Regions from separate parts of the Homo sapiens genome. Here all the other regions are linked to region 2. Evidence: promoter capture Hi-C in 16 types of primary human blood cells and fetal thymus (Javierre and others, 2016). All regions are on one chromosome and are shown on one strand. Each heading gives the region's core, a stretch centred on a gene start or on the middle of the fragment in contact. The rest is flanking DNA. Distances are from core to core; before and after follow the strand shown.

Region 1 (5,355 bases), core at 298-2,797, 290 kb after region 2:
AAAAACCCTGTCTTACCAGTGAGGAAAAGGACAACCTGGATCCCCTTTCTTTGGGGCCACCACGTTTGTTTTTGTGATGTTCACAACTCACCCTCTCCATGTTCAGTATCTGCATCCCACGTATCTGCTGGCCGCAGGCGATCTCCTGTGCTGCTGCATCAACCTATCAACCTGTCTCCCAGCAACAGAGGCCAGGACCCACAACTCCAAAGCTGTCTGCTGTTCAGGCATTTATCATACCTTGATCACTTACCCTACTATCCCAATCAATGAAATGGTGTGTTTAATCAATACCACTTATTTGTCATGGATCCATGCTGAATCTCAGTGGTAACCTTCATTTGTCTAGGAAGACTGTGTAGATTTTGTTAGGGATTGATATCCATGTGTAAGTCTCTAGTTTCTAGACTGTGTCTGCCTTTCCTTATTCAAATATTTCAGTTCAGGCCAGGCACTGTGGTTCACGCCTGTAATCCCAGCACTTTGGGAGGCTGAGGCGGGCAGATCACCTGAGGTCAGGAGTTCGAGACCAGTCTGGCCAACATAGTAAAACCCTGTCTCTACTAAAAATACAAAAATTAGCCAGGCATGGTGGCAGGCGCCTCTAATCCCAGCCACTTGGGAGGCTGAGGCAGGAGAATCACTTGAACTCGGGAGGCCGAGGTTGCAATGAGCCGAGATTGTGCCATTGCATTCCAGCCTGGGCAACAAGGGCAAAACTCTGTCTCAAAAAAAAAAAAAAAAAAAAAAATCAGTTCAGAACTGTTGGCCAGGACCCATCACCCCCGGAAACTGGAGTAAGGTAACAAATTGGCTGAAAGATTCTTTCCTTGATTTTCAATGAAATTTCTGTGGTTCTAGTCATGGCCAAAGAGAAGTAGCAGGTGGGAACATACTTGGTTATTCCTACTTCATGTTTTCTAAGAAAAATCCCTTTACTCAACCACTACACGTGAAGTTTTATACTTGCCAACTTAGTATTGCTTCAGGTAAGAACTCACAAAAATGAACTCAAACTAAAGCTTAGCACAAGCTGAAACAACAGAGAAAGGAAGTGAGTTCCTTACTTTCTGATGTTTGACACTTTCCCCAGAGAATTGAAAATCATCTCTAATAGGTCTGATGAGCTGTTTCAAAGAACACACCTCCCTGCCACTTATAAAACCTGAAAGCTACTTTCCTTAATACAGAGAGTTAACTGAGAGCCAGAGGGAAGAGCAGGGCAAAAAGTCCTGCCGGGTCATCAGCAACCCTCTCAGAATTTGTCTGTTTCCTTCCAGGATCAAATCCAGCATGCAGGTGACTACAGTCCCATCCCCCGGCGTTATCTCACAGTGGTACAGAAGGTCTGTGAGCTGCTGGAGACCCCATGAGCTGGGACAAAGGAGCCGAGGGGCAGCAAAGGCTGCTTCCCCAGCCCCACCCTCACTTCCACTCCAGTTCCCCCAGGCAGAAAAGTGAAGCCACCGGAGCCTGCTTTGTAATTCCCTACTCACTAAAGAAGCAAAAGGAAATGAAAAGTCCACAATTATCTTTCTGTCTCCCTCTATCAGCCCATAAACTTGGGTAAGGGGCACATTGTTCTTGGAATGGACTCAGAACAGAGTAGTTATAATATCAGAATGACTTTCTTTTAGGTAACCCTTAGCAATAAAGAGATACCCACACACCTTAAAAAGGTGACTAAAATCCTAAGTAGATGTATAGCAGGCTTAGATTTGCCTCATTCTCATTCAACAAAAGTTTTAAGAGATTTTCAATCCAGGTGCAGTGGTTTATGCCGGTAATCCCAGCACTTTGGGAGGCTGAGGCAGGAGGATCACTTGAGCTCAGGAGTTTGAGACCAGCCTGGCCAACAGAGTGAGACCCCCATCTCTATAAAAAAATGTAAAAATTAGCAGGTGTTGTGGTGCACACTTGTAGTCTCACCTACTAAGGAGACTGAGGTGGGAGGACTGCTTGAACCTGGGATGTCAAGGCTGTGGCGTGCTCAGCCCTGTCTGAAATAAAATAATAAAATTCTATGATTTACAGAACTGTGCTAAGGGGAGGCTCATGCACCTCACTAACTAGAAGCTTAATTTGTGCAGCTTATAGGCCCCTGCCAGGTTAGGGGTGTAATGACCAAACAAAAGAGGGCTGAAGTTTATGCTAGCAGCAAATGAACACTTAAAACACAAAAACAAAGAAAAAACTTTTATGTCAGAAAAAAACTTTAAGTCATAATTGCATCCAAACAACGTAATTGCACTCAAACAACAGCTATGTGGGGTTTTGTCTTTGTTTTTGTTTTTTGAGACAGAATCTCCCTCTGTCACTCTGGCTGGAGTGCCGTGGTGCAATCTTGGCTCACTGCCAACTCTGCCTCCTGGGTTCAAGCGATTTTCCTGCCTCAGCCTCCTGAGTAGCTGGGATTACAGGCATGCACACCATGCCAGGCTAATTTTTTGTATTTTCAGTAGAGATGGGGTTTCACCATGTTGACTAGGCCGGTCTTGAACTCTTGACCTCAAGTGATCCACCTGCCTCGGCCTCCCAAAGTGCTGGGATTACAGGTGTGAACTACCGTGCCCAGCCTCAAACAACAGCTATTTGGATAAGACAAAGTATTCCAATAGTCCTCAGCAGTCGCAAAAACAAAAACAAAAACCCAACACTTTGGATTCCCATATTATTATGCCTTATTGCTCCTTGACATCATTTGGATATTTGTCCCCACCCAGTTTTCATGCTGTGGGGCCTGCTGGGAGGTGATTGGATCATGGGGGTGGATTTCTCATGAATGGTTTAGCACCTTCCCCTTGGTGCTGTCCTTGCAATAGTGAGTGAGTTCCTGTGAGATCTGGTTGTTTAAAAGCGTGTGGCCCCGGCCGGGCGCGGTGGCTCACGCCTGTAATCCCAGCACTCTGGGAGGCTGAGGCAGGCAGATCACGAGGTCAGGAGTTCAAGACCAGCCTGGCTAACATTGTGAAACCCTGTCTCTACTAAAAATACAAAAATTAGCCGGGCATGGTGGCGCGAGCCTGTAATCCCAGTTACTTAGGAGGCTGAGGTAGACAACTGCTTGAATCCAAGAGGCAGAGGTTGCAGTGAGCCGAGATCATGCTGCTGCACTCCAGCCTGGGCAACAGAGTGAGACTCCGTCTCAAAAAAAATAAAAAGTGCGTGGCCTCTCCCCACTCGCTCTCTTGCCCCCCCTCTGCCATGTGGGATACCAGCTCCTGCTTCACCTCCTTCTTGGAGTAAAAGCCCCCTGAGGCCTTATAGGAAGCTGAACAGATGCTGGAGCCATGCTTGTACAACCCGCAGAACCCTGAGCAAATTAAACCTCTTTTCTCTATAAATCACCCAGTCTCGGGTATTTCTTTATAGCATCTCAACAGTGGCTTTACACATTCCTTCAACCAAGGTACATTTACTCTGTCATTTTGGAAAATGATGGGTGAGATTTCAGAAGCACCCAAGAACTCACCTAGAGGTCTACCCTTAAAACCTGATTGAGAATGTAGTTCATTCTGGTTCTTGGCTCAAGAAAGATCCTGGTAGTTTTAAGAAGGAAACAGCTTGCCACATGGGTAAGATGATTGTTCTATATGATGGAGGATTGGATAAGAGCAAACGAGGAAGGCACAGATATGTCAGCTGAATAAAAGAAGAAAAAGTGAAAAAGGAGAGTGCAGAAAAGCTGGAGGGTGAAAGAAATCTCCTCAAAGCATAGGTCAGGTTTCTGTTTACAAGTGCATTTTTCTCCTCTCCCCCACTCAGCTCCCATTAAAAGAGTTTTATTTATTTATTTATTATTTATTTATTTTTTTGAGATGGAGTTTCACTCTGTCGCCCAGGCTGCAGTGCAATGGGAATGGCACGATCTCGACTCACTGCAAGCTCTGCCTCCCAGGTTCAAGCGATTCTCCTGTCTCAGTCTCCTAAGTAGCTAGGATTACAGGCGCCTGCCACCACACCTGGCTAATTTTTGTATTTTTAGTAGAGACAGGGTTTCACCATGTTGGTCAGGCTGGTCTGGAACTCGACCTCAGGTGATCTGCCCGCCTCGGCCTCCCAAAGTGCTGGGATTACAGGCATGAGCCACCGCACCTGGCCAAGAGAGTTTTAAAAACTGCATTTGCACAAATTTCCTTAATCATACAGCTTAAAAGCCCCATGGCCTAGGAAGGCTACTGTCAAAATAATAATAATAATAATAATAATAATGTGTTGGTGAGGATGTGGAGAAACTGGAACTCTTGTGGGCCTCTGGTGGATATGTGAAATGGTGCGGCCGCTGTGGAAAACATTATGGTGGTTCCTGAAAACATTAAGAATAGAATTACTATGGGATATGGTCCAGCCGTTCCCCTTCTGAATATAGAAAATAATCAAAAGAGGTTTTATATGTCCATCGTCAGTCTGTTTTGTATTGCTATAAGGGAATGCTGAGACTGGGTAATTTATGAAAAAAAATGTATTTGGCTCACAGTTCTGTGGGCTGTACAGGAAGCACAGTGCCCCATCTGCTTCTGGGGCAGCTTCAGGAAGCTTCCAATCAGGGAGGAAAGGGAAGAAGGGGCAGCGTCTCTCATGGTGACAGAGGGAGCTAGGGAGAAGGAGGAGGTGCCAGCGCTTTTAAATTACCAGATTTTGTCTGAATTCACAGAGCGTGAACTCACTCATTACTGTGAGGACAGCACCAAGCCATTCACAAGGGACCTGCCTCCGTGTCCCAAATACCTCCCACCAAGCCCCACCTTCAACACTGGAGGTCACTTTTCAACATGAGATTTGGAGGGGACAGAACATCCAAACCAAGTCACCCATTGCAGCATTATTCAATAGCCAAAAGATGGAAGCAACCCACATGTCCATCTACAGATAAATGGATAAACAAAATGTGGCCTGCACATTCAACGGAATAGTATTCAGGTGGCTCACGCCTATAATCCAGCACTTTGGGAGGCCGAGGTGGGTAGATCATGAGGTCAGGAGTTCAAGACCAGCCTGGCCAAGATGGTGAAACCTCGTCTCTACTAAAAATACAAAAAATTAGCTGGACATGGTGGTGGGCACCTGTAATCCCAGCTACTCAGGAGGCTGAGGCAGAGAACTGCTTGAACCTGGGAGGTGGAGGTTGCAGTGAGCCGAGATCACACCCTGCACTCCAGCCTGGGTAACAGAGCAAGACTCCATCTAAAAAAAAAAAAAAAAAAGGAAGGAGGTTCTGGCACAGGCTGGCAAGTGCCTGTAATCCCAGCTACTTGGGAGGCTGAGGCTGGGCGCGGTGGCCCATGCCTGTAATCCCAGCACTCTGGGAGGCCGAGGCGGGCAAATCACCTGAGGTTAGGAGTTCGAGACCAGTCT
Region 2 (4,825 bases), core at 23-2,522:
CCGCCTCTGCCTCCCAAAGTGCTGGGATTACAGGCTGCTTCCTTTAACCTAGAGCAGTTCACTAGCCTTTTTCCTAATCTTTCATGAAACTGACATTTTTGAAGACTGGGCAGTTGTCTTGCAGGTCTCTCAGTTTGGATTTGCCTGATTGTTTCGTCCTGAAGAGAGGCAAATTACACACTTTTACAAGAATATTATCTCTGTGTCCCTCTCTGTGCCTCACACCAGGGGCATATGTCAGTCCCTACCATCCCCCGTTTGATCAGTCTCTTTGATGTGAAGGTACCCTTTTCTCTTTAGTGAGTAATCTATGGGGGTGATACTTTGAAACCATATGAACATCCTCAACGGTCCACTGATCATTTCAGCCTGAATCAATTATTATCATGGTGGTTCCAAGACGATGATTTTCTATTTCTGTCATCTATTCTACCTTTATTAGTTGGTCTTCTCCTCTACAGAAGAGCTTTTTCTCCTCCACATCCTCTGCCCCTTTGAATTATCATCTCTCACTACTTGTGGGATCTTGAATCAATCACTTACTCCCTGGGGACCTGTGTATTCTCATCCTTAAGACGAGATGACCTAAGAGTGACACTCTTGAAGTCTGGTCAGTCTGAAATGAAATTCCCATAAGAGGCTGGGCGTGGGCTCAGGCCTGTGATCCCAGCACTCTGGTAGGCGCAGGCGGGCGGATCACTTATGCCGTGGAGTTCGAGACCAGCCTGGAAACATAGGGAGATTCCCGTCTTTACCAAAAAAAAAAAAAAAAAAAAATTAAATTAGCCGGGCGTGGTGGCGCGCTTCTGTGGACCCTCCTACTCAGGAGGCTTAGGCAGGAGGACGGCTTGAGCCCAGGAGGTCGAGGCTCCAGTGAGCCAAGATCGCGCCACTACACTCCGGCCTGCGGCATGCCTCAAACCTGGGGTCCGGCACCCTGCGGCCTTTTCGCGGCCGCACCCATGGCAACAGTTAACTAGCAACCTCGCGCATTCTCGCGAGAATGAGTCCCCTCAAGGGCACAGGTGCGGTCCCCAGCCTCTTGGGCCCCCAGTCAACCTCACTGTCCACACCGAGCCCTCCTGCGCACGCGCGCTGCGGAGCCGGACAGTTGGTGGTGCTGGCTTGGCCCGGCTGTTCGTCTCCGCGCCTTGCTCCGAAGCGCGCGACCGTGGCGCGACACGCCGGCGCACAGGCGCTCTCGGGGAGGGGCGGCGCGCAGGCGCGGCTGGGGGTGCGAGGCTGCGCAGGCGCGGACGGCGTTGGTTTGAAGACCTTCAGCGTTGCCCTGGCGGAGCAGAGACAGGCCCTCGGGGTGGAGGTGAGGAGAGCTGAGGCCGCGCGGGCTCCAGTCCCGGAGAGCGGTGGGCCGCGGCCGAGCAGAGCGCCAGGCGGGAGGCGGGCCTAACGGAGGCTCTGTGGGCAGGGAGCAGGCTACCGGGGCGCGGGGGGCCGGGGCCGCTCGCTCCCGCCGGGACCCGCCCGGGCCACCTCAGGCGATGGAGCCGCAGCACGGCGGGGCAAGTGGCCTCCGGGCGCGGGCAGCGACCTATCCCGCCGGCGTGTGGACCGCACTTTCCTCCCAGGGGTCAGCTAGAAAGGAGATCGGTTCTAGGGAAGTTGGATCCTCGAACCCCACACCCATCTCCCGCCCGCCCCTGCCCCCTCCTTACGGCCGAGGGAGGGTGCCCTGCGTGCAATTCAAAACGGAGAAGCGAGGAACGAAAAGGGCTCTGTACTGGCTGTCAAGTTAGTGGCTTTGTAAAGCAGTAGCAACCGGCTTAACGCCTTTCCCCGTCTGCGTCTCCTGCAGCCTCTGTGCAGTGTGCACATCTATGGGCAGGTGCATTCTGTAGAGCTGGTGGAGACGTGTGGTTGTAGCTTTACTCTCGAGGAACATGAAGTTTCTGTTGTTCTCGATTTTTGCTTGATCATACTAGCAGTGCATTTCCCATCAGAGTCATAGGCCTGAAAAAGTCAGCTTGAACTAGGCAGAATTGAGGTCAGTTAGTATACTAAACCAGCTACGTGACTTTTGCATAGTATCTCGTACTGGTTTTGAAAAATAACAAAACAAAATGCTGAAATATTGTAAATAGTCCCTAGACGTATATATAGTGCTTCTAAACATTTAAGTGTATCTTTTCTCGGCAGTATGAAAAACCAGACTGTAAAGCTTTAACATTTCTATTTCAATATATACTGCCTGCATTTCTATACTTACTTCCCAAATTACAGACTTCTGGCAAAATTTCAACAAATATCAACATCAGTTGTAATCATAAAGAGTAATATCAAATTGCAATTGGGATAATATAAAAAGCCTAGAATTGATCACTTTAGTACAAGGGATTGAATTGTAAAATAATCGTTCTGTAAGTGAATTATGAAACCTGGTAGCTTAGAGCAAAGTTTTACTATGGAATGAGTCAGTACATTTATACTACCGTTTCCTCTTTAATTTTTTTTTCTTTTTAGTTTTTTATACTAGTCTCTTTATATCATAGTGTCTGTCATATTTGACAGGTTTATGTTAAGGAACAAAACTTAAATGCATTCCCATTTAAGTGCATCATATGTATATGTTTGGTATGATGGGGTAGGCAGAAGCTTAGCAGAAGTCTGGATTAAGAGCTGGGCTATATATAAATAAATATGAGCTTAAATGTGTAGATCATTCAGGCGTAGCAATTGCAAGGGCTAGCTGGTACTCTGGATTTTTCTGACATATGGGCTAATGGCACTGCTAGAGGTGGCTCTGTAATTGGTTAGACATAGCTTTTGAGTCTGCGAGAGGAATACAGAAGAACCTGCTGCAGAAAGATTTCCCATGATACAAAGAGGGCAAAGGAATGAGATAATCAGCAGTGTTGATAGCTCTGAGAATTTGATATGAGGGTCATATTACCAGTAGCAAAGCTGGGCAGATTTTTAGTAGGCAAGATGAAAAATCAAGGCACCTGAGGTTTTTGAAGGCTTTAACTTCAGAGTTTACACTAACTTTTGGTAAGCAGGTTGCTGCAGGTAGAATCTGTCATATTTCTGGTTAATGGGTAAAATTATAGCACTTTAAGAAGAGCTTTGAGAGAAGATATATTCTAGATGAATACACTTCAATTCGTATGGTAAATTCTTATTTTAAGAACTGAATTTCAGAGGAGAAAAATGTTAACCCTGAGGATTTTGATTGCATCTTTTAACAGTTTCTTTAAAAATTTCCATTGTTGTCTTATACAGGTCTTTGGTTTCATAAGAGCCTGAGAGAGATTTTTCTAAGGTAAATTTTGCATATATTTTTAAAAGAAGTCCAGTTTAACATAGCATCTTTTTCATCCTGTAAGAACTTACTTTTCTTTGAAATGCAATCAGAAAGATGACCTCTGAATCTCACGGGAAAACTGTTTTATTCTCAGTATTCTGGAAAGGTCTGTTTTTTAAGGAGCAGACTGCTGTCTCATACCTTTGATTGCATTAAAGCATTAATGATACACAGGAAGAGAAAACTGTATACCCCTTCTCACAGGATTAAACAGCAGAAGAACTGTGGGTGAATAAATACTAAATGGTTATTTTTATTCCTTTGCCCTGTTTTTCTTTATAAGATATGTGTAACACACCAACGTACTGTGACCTAGGAAAGGCTGCTAAGGATGTCTTCAACAAAGGATATGGTAAGTATGCTATTGTAACTTTCCAGTTTGGGGTAAAGGTTAGTGTTGAATGCCTACTGTGTGTAAATACTGTGTTAGTAAAATAAGGGTAAGTCAGCATTATTCCACTTCACAAGATTTAAGGGGATAACTATTAACAGGCTATTAGACCTCATTCTTTAGAGGCAGAACCCCTTACAAGCATTAAAAGCAATTATATACATATACAGATGCATATACATGTCCATATTTAATGTTATCTGGAATGTAGAATAATATATATAACATTTATGTCTCTTTGTCTGGCCCTGAGGACAATTAAATTAGGGGGTAGAACTTTTCCTCCCTCCAAACAGTGGCATTGTTTTTATGAAAGTGACAACATAACTTTTGACTTCTTTGGAGTAATGTATATTCTGATCCTAAATAAATATTTTTTAGGTTTTAAAATTTAACTTAAATTTATGTGCTGTACATATTTGATTTTTTCTTATTAACTAGTAATGTTAACTATATTTTAAACGATATATATAGCAGCACACTATTTTCAGCAATTTTGATTCTTGGAATAGTGCATATTCCTTTCATTTATTTTTTTCTTTAACTTACATTTTAAAAGTATATCTTTATTCATTTTGAGTGCTTGAAAATTATACTGCATTTATTTGGTTATAATTCAGTTTCTTGAGGAACTCTCACCCAATGAAAATACTATGCATTTTTCATATGGAAGGTACTATAGGCTATTTCATAATTTCTGAGTTGCAAAAACTAGTGAATGTCACATTTTGTACATTACTGTGTTTTTGTGTGTGTGTGTGTATAGGCTTTGGCATGGTCAAGATAGACCTGAAAACCAAGTCTTGTAGTGGAGTGGTGAGTATCTAATATATTTTTAATGAATGTAACATAATTAACTTAAAGGAATCTGTTTAAAATCATGACAGTCTAGTTACTTGAACCAGCACCATGCTGTCTTCCCCACAGCTTTGTCCTCTCAGATTTTAAACAGCATTCTTAGCCAATTAAAATAAACAACCAAGTTGAATTTTTGAAGAGACCTTTTGTGTTTCTCAGAGTATACTACAGCTTTCACTCAGAAGATGTAGAATATATATTTTTTGACCCATGTCATATGTTTATACTTTCATGAATATGTATATGGGCACCAAAAA
Region 3 (4,818 bases), core at 399-2,898, 340 kb before region 2:
TTCTGAATCTAACTCTTTTGCCTCCAAAAATAAGTTTAACTGAAGTGTTTTTTAGAACTTCTGCTCTCATTCTGGAGATCATTTGCATTACAATATAAACAATGCTAGACAAATGGCTCCCACAGCAACTATTCTTGGTAGTGACATTAAAATCAAACGGAAAACTAATACACACTAGGAAAGAGATATTACTATTAACTCTGATAGGAAAGAAAAGAGTGAAGCAAACATTCAAACCTGAGCCAAGATTTGTTTTTAAATCAGCTGCCTAAAAAGAAGCCCCCTGGGAGAATCATGCTTCAATTTGGTGAGGGTCTCAAGAGGATAGAAATCAGAGTATCATTACTCCAAGTAAGCTCATTATACAGATATTAAGTCTAAACTAAATGAGAAGCTACATCCTGAGTTTAACAAGCTGGGAACGAACGTCCTAATTGACTAAGCTTCGCAGGTAAAAGAATGAGTGACAGTCACTCATTGTCTTTCCAGTCGGGATTGTCATCAGTCTCCAGGTCTTCGGAAAGTCAAGCGCCTGCAGCCTCGGATCTTAACTCCCGGAAAGTACACGAGCGGCTAGAGCGAGCGCAACTCGCTTCCGACAGTCCTTCCCGTCCCCATTCCCCACCCCTAAACACGTCTTCGCGCTCTCTTTTCAAAGAGCGAGAAACTTTAAAAACTTGGATCTGCACAGCCCGGCAGCTCGCCGACGGGGCGCTGCACCGTTTCCACGCGATGGAAACAGACCCCGAGCACAAGTTAACAATGAAATCACGTGAAGGAGTTCAGAGCGGTGCATAGCCCCGGCCCAGCTCCGCACCCTAAGCTCTGGGGGCCGGCTCGAGGGCGGCGCGGGTTGCTGGGAGCCTGACAGTCGCGCACCGGGCCAAGCCGCGAGGTTGACAGGCGCCCGGCCTCCCCTCGGCGGCTGGGCTGACAGCCCGGCAGACACAACACCACACGTGCTGCGCCTCGCACCACAACACCCGCCGGCCTGTCAGCCCCGCTCGCCGCCTCAGCCCCGCTCGGATCCCCGCGCCCCCGGCCGGAGCCAAAGCCGGAGCCGGAACCCGAGCCCGAGCCCGAACCCGAGCGCCCGCGAGCGCGGGGAGAAGCGGCCCGGCCCGGCACAGCCGGCACGCGCGCGGCGGGCGGGTGGGCGCGCCCCGAGGGAGAGCGGGCTCGCCGGCTCCGCCAGCCCGAGGCTCCGCGGCCTGGGCCGCTCGCCGCCCGCCCACCCGCCGGCTCCCCCAGGGCGGGCCCGGCCGGCGGGATCGGGGGCGCGGGGCCCGCGAGCGCGGGGCCGGGCGGCGGCGCGCGGGCCGCGGGCCGGGGCAGCCGGGCGCCGAACAAGCGAGCAAGCGAGCGAGCGAGCGGGCGGGCGCGAGGGGGCGGCCACGGCGCCCCAGCCCGAGGCCTGGCGCAGAGCAGCGGGAGGCGGCGCAGGCCGCGGCGGGGCCTGCAGCGGCCCGCCGACCCCGCGAGGCAGCGGAGTGGGCCCTGGAGCGGCTCGGCCTCGGGCTGGGCGGCCGGGGGCGGCCGGGAACGGCCCCTCGGCTACTTACCGGGAGGAAGGACAGCCGAGATCCCGGGGCCCCGGGCCGGACCGCGGAGATGCCCCAAACTGACACGGCCGCCATCTTGGAGACAGTGAGCTCCAGCCGGGGGGAGGGGAGGCAAGGCGGCGGAACAGCCGCGGGGGGAGGGGAGCGTCGCGAGGGAACGGCGGCCTGGGGGAGGGAGCTGGAAGAGCCTGGGCGGGCGGCGAGGGGAGGCGGAGGCCCGGCAGCGCGGGTGGGGGGCGGCCGAGAGCGGGAAGAGCTGGGCCGAGAGCCGGGAAAGGCCGGAGGGCGGGGCGGGGCAGCAGGGAAGAGCCGGCCGGCGGGGTCACGTGGGGCCGGTACAAAAGGCCAAAGCCAGGGGAGGAGGAGGACTTGGTGGGGCTGGAGGCTGGGGAGCGGGGGTTCCTCCTCTCCCGTCTCACGCGTTTAAGTCAGACGGCGACCCGGGAGAGGAGGAGCTGGTGCACCCCATGCCACCGCTGGGGAAACTGAGGGCAGGAGTCTGGGTGGGGTGGCTTCAGTGTGGCACGGAAATCCGGCAGCCACGCAGGATGGGAACTCTCGGCGGCGTCTGTTTACAGTTAGTGAGCCCTCCCTCCCCACTCATTTGCCTGCACAGCGACTTTCCGGAGCCCGAGGGCGGGGCCTGGGGGGCGGAGAGGAGGCGGCTTCCCGTCCTCACCCCTGGCAGCTCGCCTCAGCCCCCGACGGCTCTCCTGTGTCGGTGGGAAGAGTTGGGGAGAGGGTGGAACCAGAAGCACCCGTCTTAACCCCTTTCAGCAGTGACTTCATTTCTTCCCTCCCCCAGCAGCTGAGAGGGTTCTTGGAGCTCACTAGAGCCATTTTATGGGAGACTCCACAGACCTGGGTCGTGTGACTTGGACAAGGTCACACAGCTAGTATGTGGCGCGCACCTGAGCCTGGGACTGAGATTTGTCTTATTCCAAAGCCGGTCTTCCCTTCTTGCCCTGTGCGGAACTCTTGTCCATACTTAGGGCGTTGGAACCACGAGCAGGCGGTTCTTCATGGCCTGCCTGTCCACTACTGGCTGTATGGACGTTTCTTTGTCTTGCCTTTCATCTACTTTAAACTCTTTGATGCAGAGACTGAGTCATACTTTTTTTTTTTTTTTTGAGACAGTGTCGCTCTGTTGCCCAGGCTGGAGTGCAAGTGGTGCGATCTTGGCTCACTGCAACCTCCGTCTCCTGGGTTCAAGCGATTCTCCTACCTCATCCTCCTGAGTAGCTGGGACTGCAGGCGCCCGCCACCACGCCTGGCTTATTTTTGTATTTTTAGTAGAGACGGGGTGTCACTATGTTGGCCAGGCCGCTGGTCTCGAACTCCTGACTTCAAGTGATCCGCCCTCTTCGGCCTCCCAAAGTGCTGGGATTACAGGCCTGAGACACTGCACCTGGCCAAGTCATGCATTTTTTTTTTTTCTGCATTCACTAGAAAGACAGTAGACATGAAAAAGACACTAAATGTTTAATCGTTGACATGGACGTGTATCCTGCTGCCTGACCTTTATCTGCCCTGTCCCCAACCCCATACGACACACCCCGCCTAGACTGTCGCCCGCAATACCTCATTTTATCTCAGCTTTAGCTTTTAAGGGCCTCCCTCTCACCCACTGCCTTAACTTCCATGCTGACTTCCTTTTCTGAACTTCTGTAGTAGTATCATTTGCTCTAGTCATTTTGCACTTACATGTGATATATATATATATATATATATATTCCGAATACATTCACTGGTAAATGCTCTCCTATAATGACTCTGCATCTCCAGCACCTAGAATAATGTTGTACAAGTACTGTAGTAGGCGGTTTAAAATAAAAAAATGTTGCTCGTGAATGAACAATTTTTTAAGCCGTTAAGAAAGCCGTTTGTGGCGGGGCGCTGCTGTAGCCCAGCTACTCGGGAGGCCTGCTTGAGCCCGGGAGTTCCAGGCTGCAGTGAACTATGATCGCCACTACACTCCAGCCTGAGAGACACAGCAAGAGGGAACCCAAACTTTTCTATCTATCCCGTCTCCACTCTAATCCATAGCCCTACCCTCCATACGGTAGACTCTGGACCATTCAGTAAGAATAACGTAACTTTTCAGATCATGGTCCAGCCTAATCAATATCCTGACACTGACAGAAACAGAAGTGTAATGTAGTGAGGTTGACTGAGTTGCCATTCATCGCCTACTTCCAAGCCCCATCTCCAAAGCAGTAGAGAAATTTGGAATACATGATAATCCAATAGAAAGGATCTCTTTCATCCTAGATGAATCAGATAGACACATTCTCAGGTAAAATGGTCCCTGTTTGTAATGAAATCACCTCCAGGAAAAAAAAAAAAAAAAAAAAAAAAAAAAATATATATATATATATATATATGTATTTTCTTTTAGTAGAATAGGCAGATTTTTATTTCCCAAAGAGGGCAGATAAAGTCATATTAATGCAAAGACAATGAGTTCTTCATGTGAGACTAGAGTGTGTGGCCTTCAGAAGAAAAATAATACAGAGATGAGTTGTGTTTACTTTTGGATAATTTGGAAGAAAACTAGCCACAGCCATCCTGTGAAAAGACCAAACTGGGGATTAAACAGTAGCAAGAATTTAAAACAATTTATAACAACAAAGCACAGTTGAGCTTTTCACACAGCTTCCATAAAGAGTCTCTGCTTTACATTTGCATAACTAAATGGCACATTCAGGAGGTCTTCTCAAAATAAAAATCTTGCAACAAAGACGGATTAAAGTCCTCATCATTTGCAAGTTAAAAAGCAATCTGCACTCTGAAAGGATAGTTTTTCTTAGCTCAAACTTTACTCACGATTCAGCCCTGTGGAGCTGGCAACTAAAGGTTATTTCCCCCTTGCATATTTTGCTCTAGGAATCCCTGCCTTTTCACTTGTACTTGGTACTTGTGTCTTATACAGAGTCCATGCCAGCCTGAAATTGGAAGTTTGCTCTGTCCTGGTTTCAACAGGAAACATTTTTAGTCCATTTACATTTAATATAATTACTGGTATATGTGGATGTATGCCTACCATCTTACCATTTATTTTGGATCACCTATTTCACATTCCTTGTTCTCTGCTTTTTGCCTTCTTTTGAATTAATTAAAATATTTTAACTATATCATTAACCCCCTCTATTAATTTTTAAATTATACATTACTAGTTTTAGAGATTACAACATTGCTTTTTGACTTATGATCTTATACAAAATAATTACTTTTACCACTTCCCCGGGAATGCTAA
Region 4 (5,093 bases), core at 1,411-3,910, 260 kb before region 2:
GCGCAGCTGCACCGTTTTTCATTTTCACAATGGTATATCAGGAGATAAATGTTCTTACAGCCACATCCCACCCCCCGCCCCTCCCGCCGCCAAAAAAAAAAAGCAGAGAAGGGTCCAACTGGGAAAATATATATATAATTCAAGGAAAAGAAAAAAAAGGTCTTTGGCCGGGTGCGGTGGCTCAAGTCTGTAATTCTGGCACTTTGGGAGGCTGAGGCAGGTGGATCATTTGAGGTCAGGAGTTAAAGAGCAGCCTGGATAACATAGGGTAACCCCATCTCTACTAAAAATACAAAAATTAGCCGGGCGTGGTGGCACACACCTGTTATCCCAGCTACTTGGGAGACTGAGGCAGGAGAATCATTTGAGCCCAGGAGGCAAATGTTGCAGTGAGCCAAGTTCGTGCCTCTGCACTCCAGCCTGGTCAACAGAGTGAGACTCCATCGCAAAAAAAAAAAAGAATATGAACACCATAAAACAAGCTCAAAGATGAGACAGAGGGGGAATTCAGAACTAGGAATTAACTGAGGTCCAAGTCAACATTATTATAGAATAAATAAATTAGAGGCCTGGCACAGTGATTAATGCCTGTAATCCTAGCACCTTGGGAAGCCAAGGCAGATGGATCGTTTAAGCCCAGGAGTTTGAGACCAGCCTGGGCAACATGGTGAAACCCTGTCTTCACAAAAAACACAAAAATTAGCCAGCTGTGGTGGCACACAACTGTATTCCCAGCTGCTCAGGGGGCTGAGGTGGGAGGATCACCTGAGCTTGGGAGGTTGAGGCTGCAATGAGCTGTGATTGTGCCACTGCACTCCAGCCTGGGTGACAGATTGAGACCCTGTCTCAAATAAATGAATAAATAAGAAAGAACAACAATCAGAATAAACAGCATTAATAAAGGAATGAATGACAAAGGGGAAAGGCTGGAAATAATCCTAGCAAATGTAGATGAATAAGACAAAGACAGTAAAATAACTGGGCAATCTAAAACATATGGAAGATAGATAACAATAATCCAACATATGTACAAAGAACCCAAGAAGTAGAAAGTAGTTATGTTAAACTATGTCATATAAGATGACACAACTAAAACTGAAGAAAAAACTAAATCCACAGAGTATAGAAAATACAACATAATATAACGTACCAGGAGAACTTGATAAACTCTCTTCTCCAAGACATCTTCTGTGAATTTAAAGGATAAGGAAAGAAGTCTCTAGGCATTTAGACATAAAATGAAACTACCCAAAAGAGGGACACAACAGTGCTTAAAACCCCAGGTCATAGGAGCTGTAGCTAGAAAATTCTAACCAAAAAACAAAACCTGTGACCCAAGAATTAATAGCCAGGCAAGATGTTGTTCATGAGCAAAGTCAATAAGAAGACGTTCACAGGCATGAAAAATCTCAGGTAATACAAAACCGTGAGTTCTTCTTAGGAAAAAAACAAACTGCTTAACAATGAAATCCAGATGATTTCAAGATGAATCACCACAAATGATCCAGAAATGCAGAAGCCACAGTTAAAAAACAAACAAACCAAAACCGGCTGTGAGCACAAACTCCATAAAATCCAGCTCAAGAATGACTACCTATTGGGTTATTGTTACATAGGAGCATGTGACTGATACAAACCTGGACAGTATGAGAATAGCAATATAACTAATGATACCACAGAGGGCATAAAACATGGGGGCTGGACTGGGCACGGTGGCTCACTCCTGCAATCCCAGGATCAGCTGAGGTCAGGAGTTCGAGACCATCTTGGCCAATATGGTAAAACCCCATCTCTACTAAAAATACAAAAATTAGCCAGCATGGTCTACTCAGGAGGCTGAGGCAGGAGAATCACTTGAACCTGGGAGGCGGAGGTTGCAGTGAGCCGAGATTGCGCCATTGGACTCCAGCCTGGGAGACAAGAACGAAACTCCATCTCAAAAAACAAACAAACAAAAAAATGTGGGGGCTGGGAGAGAGTAAGAGCTATGCCCTCATCTTCCAAAGCAGGAGAACACTGGCCGCTACCTGAAATGGAACTATAGAGTTTTTAAAAATAGACACTAGCTTTATTTTTCATAATCTCTAGTGTTTTTTTCTCTTCTTTCTCCCTCCCTCCTTCTCTGTCTCCAACTCTTTAAACCCAGAAGATTTTTAATAATGTATTTTATTGTGCAGAAGCATTTACTTGAAAATTCAACAGTTCCTCTAGATGTATTTCACTTTCTTTTTACTCTATCAAATGCAAATAAAATTAAATTGTATACTTTAAAAGAACATCCTATACTTAATGCTATTCTAATAAAATCTTTCTCTTCTTTTAGGGGTGTGTGTGTGTGTGTCAGCATGTGTATGCTATATCTAGAACTAATATTTCCCTAAAGGTAGTAATTGATGGGATTTGGAGTGATTTTTTTCATCTTCAAACTTCTTTATATAAACTACATTATTTAAATTATTATGAAGACTTATTGTTTGTACACATATAAAGAATATGCTTAACAGGGTTAATACTAGATAATGGTATAATTAATGATTGTTATTTTATTTGGGATGCTTTTTTGTAATTTTAAACCCATCCCCATAATATTTTTTTCATTTAAAAAAATCAAATATAAATTACATGATGTAAAATTCACCCATTTTGAAGTATACACTTTAGTGGTTTTAGTTATAGTGAACATGCTGTGCAACCATCACCACTATCGACTCTAGAACATTTTCACCACCCCAAAAGAAACCCTGTACCTATAAGTAATTAGCGGCAATTTTCTCCCCTCCCTATCCCCTAGCAACCATAAATCTACTTTCTGGTTTCCCATAAGGTAGATTTCCCATTCTGGACATTTCACATAAGTGGAATCATATAATACGTGGTCTTTGGTGCCTGTCTCCATTCACTTAGCGTAATTTTTTTGTTTGTTTGTTTTTTGAGACAGAGTCTCACTCTGTCACCCAGGCTGGAGTGCAGTGGCACAATCTCCACTCACTGCAACCTCCGCCTCCTGGATTCAAGCGATTCTCCTGTCTCAGCCTCCCGAGTATCTGGGATTATAGGAGCCCACCACCATGCCCGGCTAATTTTTATATTTTTAGTAGAGATGGGGTTTCACCATATTGGCCAGGCTGGTCTCGAACTCCTGACCTCAGGTGAACTGACTGCCTCGGCCTCCCAAAGTGCTGGGATTAGAGGCGTGAGCCACCACACCCAGCCAACTTAGCATCATGTTTTCAAGGTTCATCCTGATGTAGCATGGAGCAGCATTTCATTCCTTTTTATGACTGAATAGTAGCCCACTGCATGAATGTATCACATTTTGTTTCTCCATTCATTGGTTGATGGACATTTGGGTTGTCTCCAGTTTTGTGCTGTTGTGAATAACACTGCTGTAAACATTTGTGCACAAGTTTTTGTGTGAACGTATGTTTTCAATTCTCTTGGGCCTATACCTAAGAGTGGAATTGCTGGTTTACACAGTAATTCTTTCTTTCTTTTTCTTTTCAGTGCTCAGCCCTCTATTGGAGATTCTGCCTCCCCTGGGTCGGATGTCCCTCCCTCTGCGTCCTCGTGAGTACACTCCCACAGTGGGTGGTGTGCTGTGTGTGGGTGTGCTCTGGTGCCGGACAGGGTGTAGGGGAGGGGTCTGGCGTCCTGTCCTTTGAGAGGGGACCTTGGTGAGCTTGTGTTTATGTGAGAATGCACGTGAAGTAGTGTCAGATCCCACAACTCAAGGCCCCTTCCTCCTAGGGGGCAGCCCAGGAATGGGCAGGCCTCGGCCAAGGCCTGAGCTCTCTTGAGGAGTCTTCCCTTGGTGCCTCCAGTTCCTGCCCTTGGCCCATCTCCCCAGAAGGTGATCTTTCCTTGGAGGGGTCTGAGGCTCCCTCCCCTGGTCCTGGGGTCATGGTGGGAACACCGGCCTCAGCTCCATAGTGTGCTCCTTGCCTGGCATTCACATTTCTTGGCCCGTTTCCTCCACTGGGAGCTGGGATCCTAACCTCTCAAAGGGGGGACCCCCTGAGAGGGTCTTGCAGGGTCGTGGGCATGGAGCTGGTACAGACTGTGTGTGCGGGGAGGGGTGACTGGGACAGGGCCTGGGCGTCAGGACGACTGGGATGGCCTAGTGGTCTCTGTCCTTGGTGCCGTGTTTGAGAATGCGGGTGAACTCCACATAGTTGAAGTTGCCTTTTTTGTCAACAGGCACCTCCGGGTACAACTCGCCCACTTGCTGGTCTGTGAGGTGGTCACCGTGGCGGGCTTCCTGGATAAAACCTGAAGTTGAGGCTTCCTCATCGAAGTGTTGCAGATCACATCCTTAGGGTCCATGCGGTTCAGCTGCTCCCCAAACACAGTGAGCAGCATGGTGAAGTTGATGGGCCCCGGGGCCTCACTCATCTCACCCTCCGGCTGTTCACCATGGGGTTCTTCCCCAGCGAGGCCAGGCCTTCTTTGTCAATGAAGCCATCACAGCTCTGGGCAAACCCGTGGAAGACCTCCTTAAACTCCCAGATTGGGGCTGGTCAAACATCACGAAGACATTGGATGTGGCCCACTGTGGCTTCTCGGTGGTCTGGCCATGGCCTGCCTGCTGGACAGCTTGGCTTCAGGTGAGTGGGGCTTTCCTGGTGCAGAGAAGGCGCTGGGCTAGGTGAGTGGGGCGGGGCCAGCCATCAGGTGTGGGCTCTCATATGGTAATTCTATGTGTAACTTATTAAAGACCCACCAAACTGTTTTCTACAGCCACTGCACCATTTTACATTCCCAGAAGGCTCCAATTTCATTATTTATTTTTGTAGAGACGGCAACTTGCTCTGTCAGGCAGTGGAGCACTATCACGGCTCATTGCAGCCTCCACTTCCTGGGCTCAAGGGATCCTCCCACCTCTGCCACCTGAGTAGCTGGGACTACAGTCACGTGCCACCACACGCAGCTAATTTTTTAATTTTTAATTTTTTGTGGAGATGGGGGTCTCACTATGTTGCCCCGACTGGCCTGGAACTCCTGACCTCAAGTGAACCTCCTACCTCGGGCTCCCCAAAGTGCTGGGACTACAGGTGTGAGCTACTGGGTTGCAATTTCTTCACATCCTCACTAAC

What was found. Contacts are between HindIII fragments. The CHiCAGO score rates a contact against its expected background, and 5 or more counts as called.
Region 1: a contact is called between a fragment that was not itself captured here and the fragment with the promoter of VDAC3 in region 2, in 10 of 17 cell types (megakaryocytes, endothelial precursors, M2 macrophages and 7 more). The highest score is 7.5, in megakaryocytes.
Region 3: a contact is called between the fragment with the promoter of KAT6A here and the fragment with the promoter of VDAC3 in region 2, in 9 of 17 cell types (activated CD4 T cells, total CD8 T cells, naive B cells and 6 more). The highest score is 7.4, in activated CD4 T cells.
Region 4: a fragment that was not itself captured here is called in contact with the fragment with the promoter of VDAC3 in region 2 in 1 of 17 cell types (naive CD8 T cells); the score reaches 5.9 in naive CD8 T cells.

Annotation. Positions count from the first base shown.
Region 1 is chr8:42,677,261-42,682,615 of GRCh38, forward strand. No RefSeq gene overlaps it. Among named protein-coding and RNA genes, the nearest start is that of CHRNB3, 17 kb to the right of the region's middle. The HindIII fragment of the contact is 1,054 bases long and covers 1,021-2,074 here.
Region 2 is chr8:42,390,608-42,395,432 of GRCh38, forward strand. It overlaps VDAC3 (voltage dependent anion channel 3), which reads left to right and starts at 1,273. Exons shown (of 10, transcript NM_005662.7): 1 at 1,273-1,321; 2 at 3,238-3,277; 3 at 3,603-3,671; 4 at 4,477-4,526. The coding sequence starts at 3,605. It also overlaps a transcript of DKK4 not described here. RefSeq lists enhancers at 777-1,277, 1,278-1,778 and a silencer at 1,020-1,549. The HindIII fragment of the contact is 9,991 bases long and covers 1-2,174 here.
Region 3 is chr8:42,050,339-42,055,156 of GRCh38, forward strand. KAT6A (lysine acetyltransferase 6A) reads right to left here and starts at 1,649. Exons shown (of 17, transcript NM_006766.5): 1 at 1,563-1,649. KAT6A-AS1 (KAT6A antisense RNA 1) reads left to right here and starts at 1,412. Exons shown (of 2, transcript NR_136589.1): 1 at 1,412-1,647. RefSeq lists silencers at 743-1,212, 1,313-1,942, 2,133-2,292, 4,253-4,547 and enhancers at 1,741-2,262, 2,263-2,783. The HindIII fragment of the contact is 5,822 bases long and covers 442-4,818 here.
Region 4 is chr8:42,124,657-42,129,749 of GRCh38, forward strand. It overlaps the pseudogene LOC101059972. Among named protein-coding and RNA genes, the nearest start is that of AP3M2, 26 kb to the right of the region's middle. The HindIII fragment of the contact is 9,989 bases long and covers 1-5,093 here.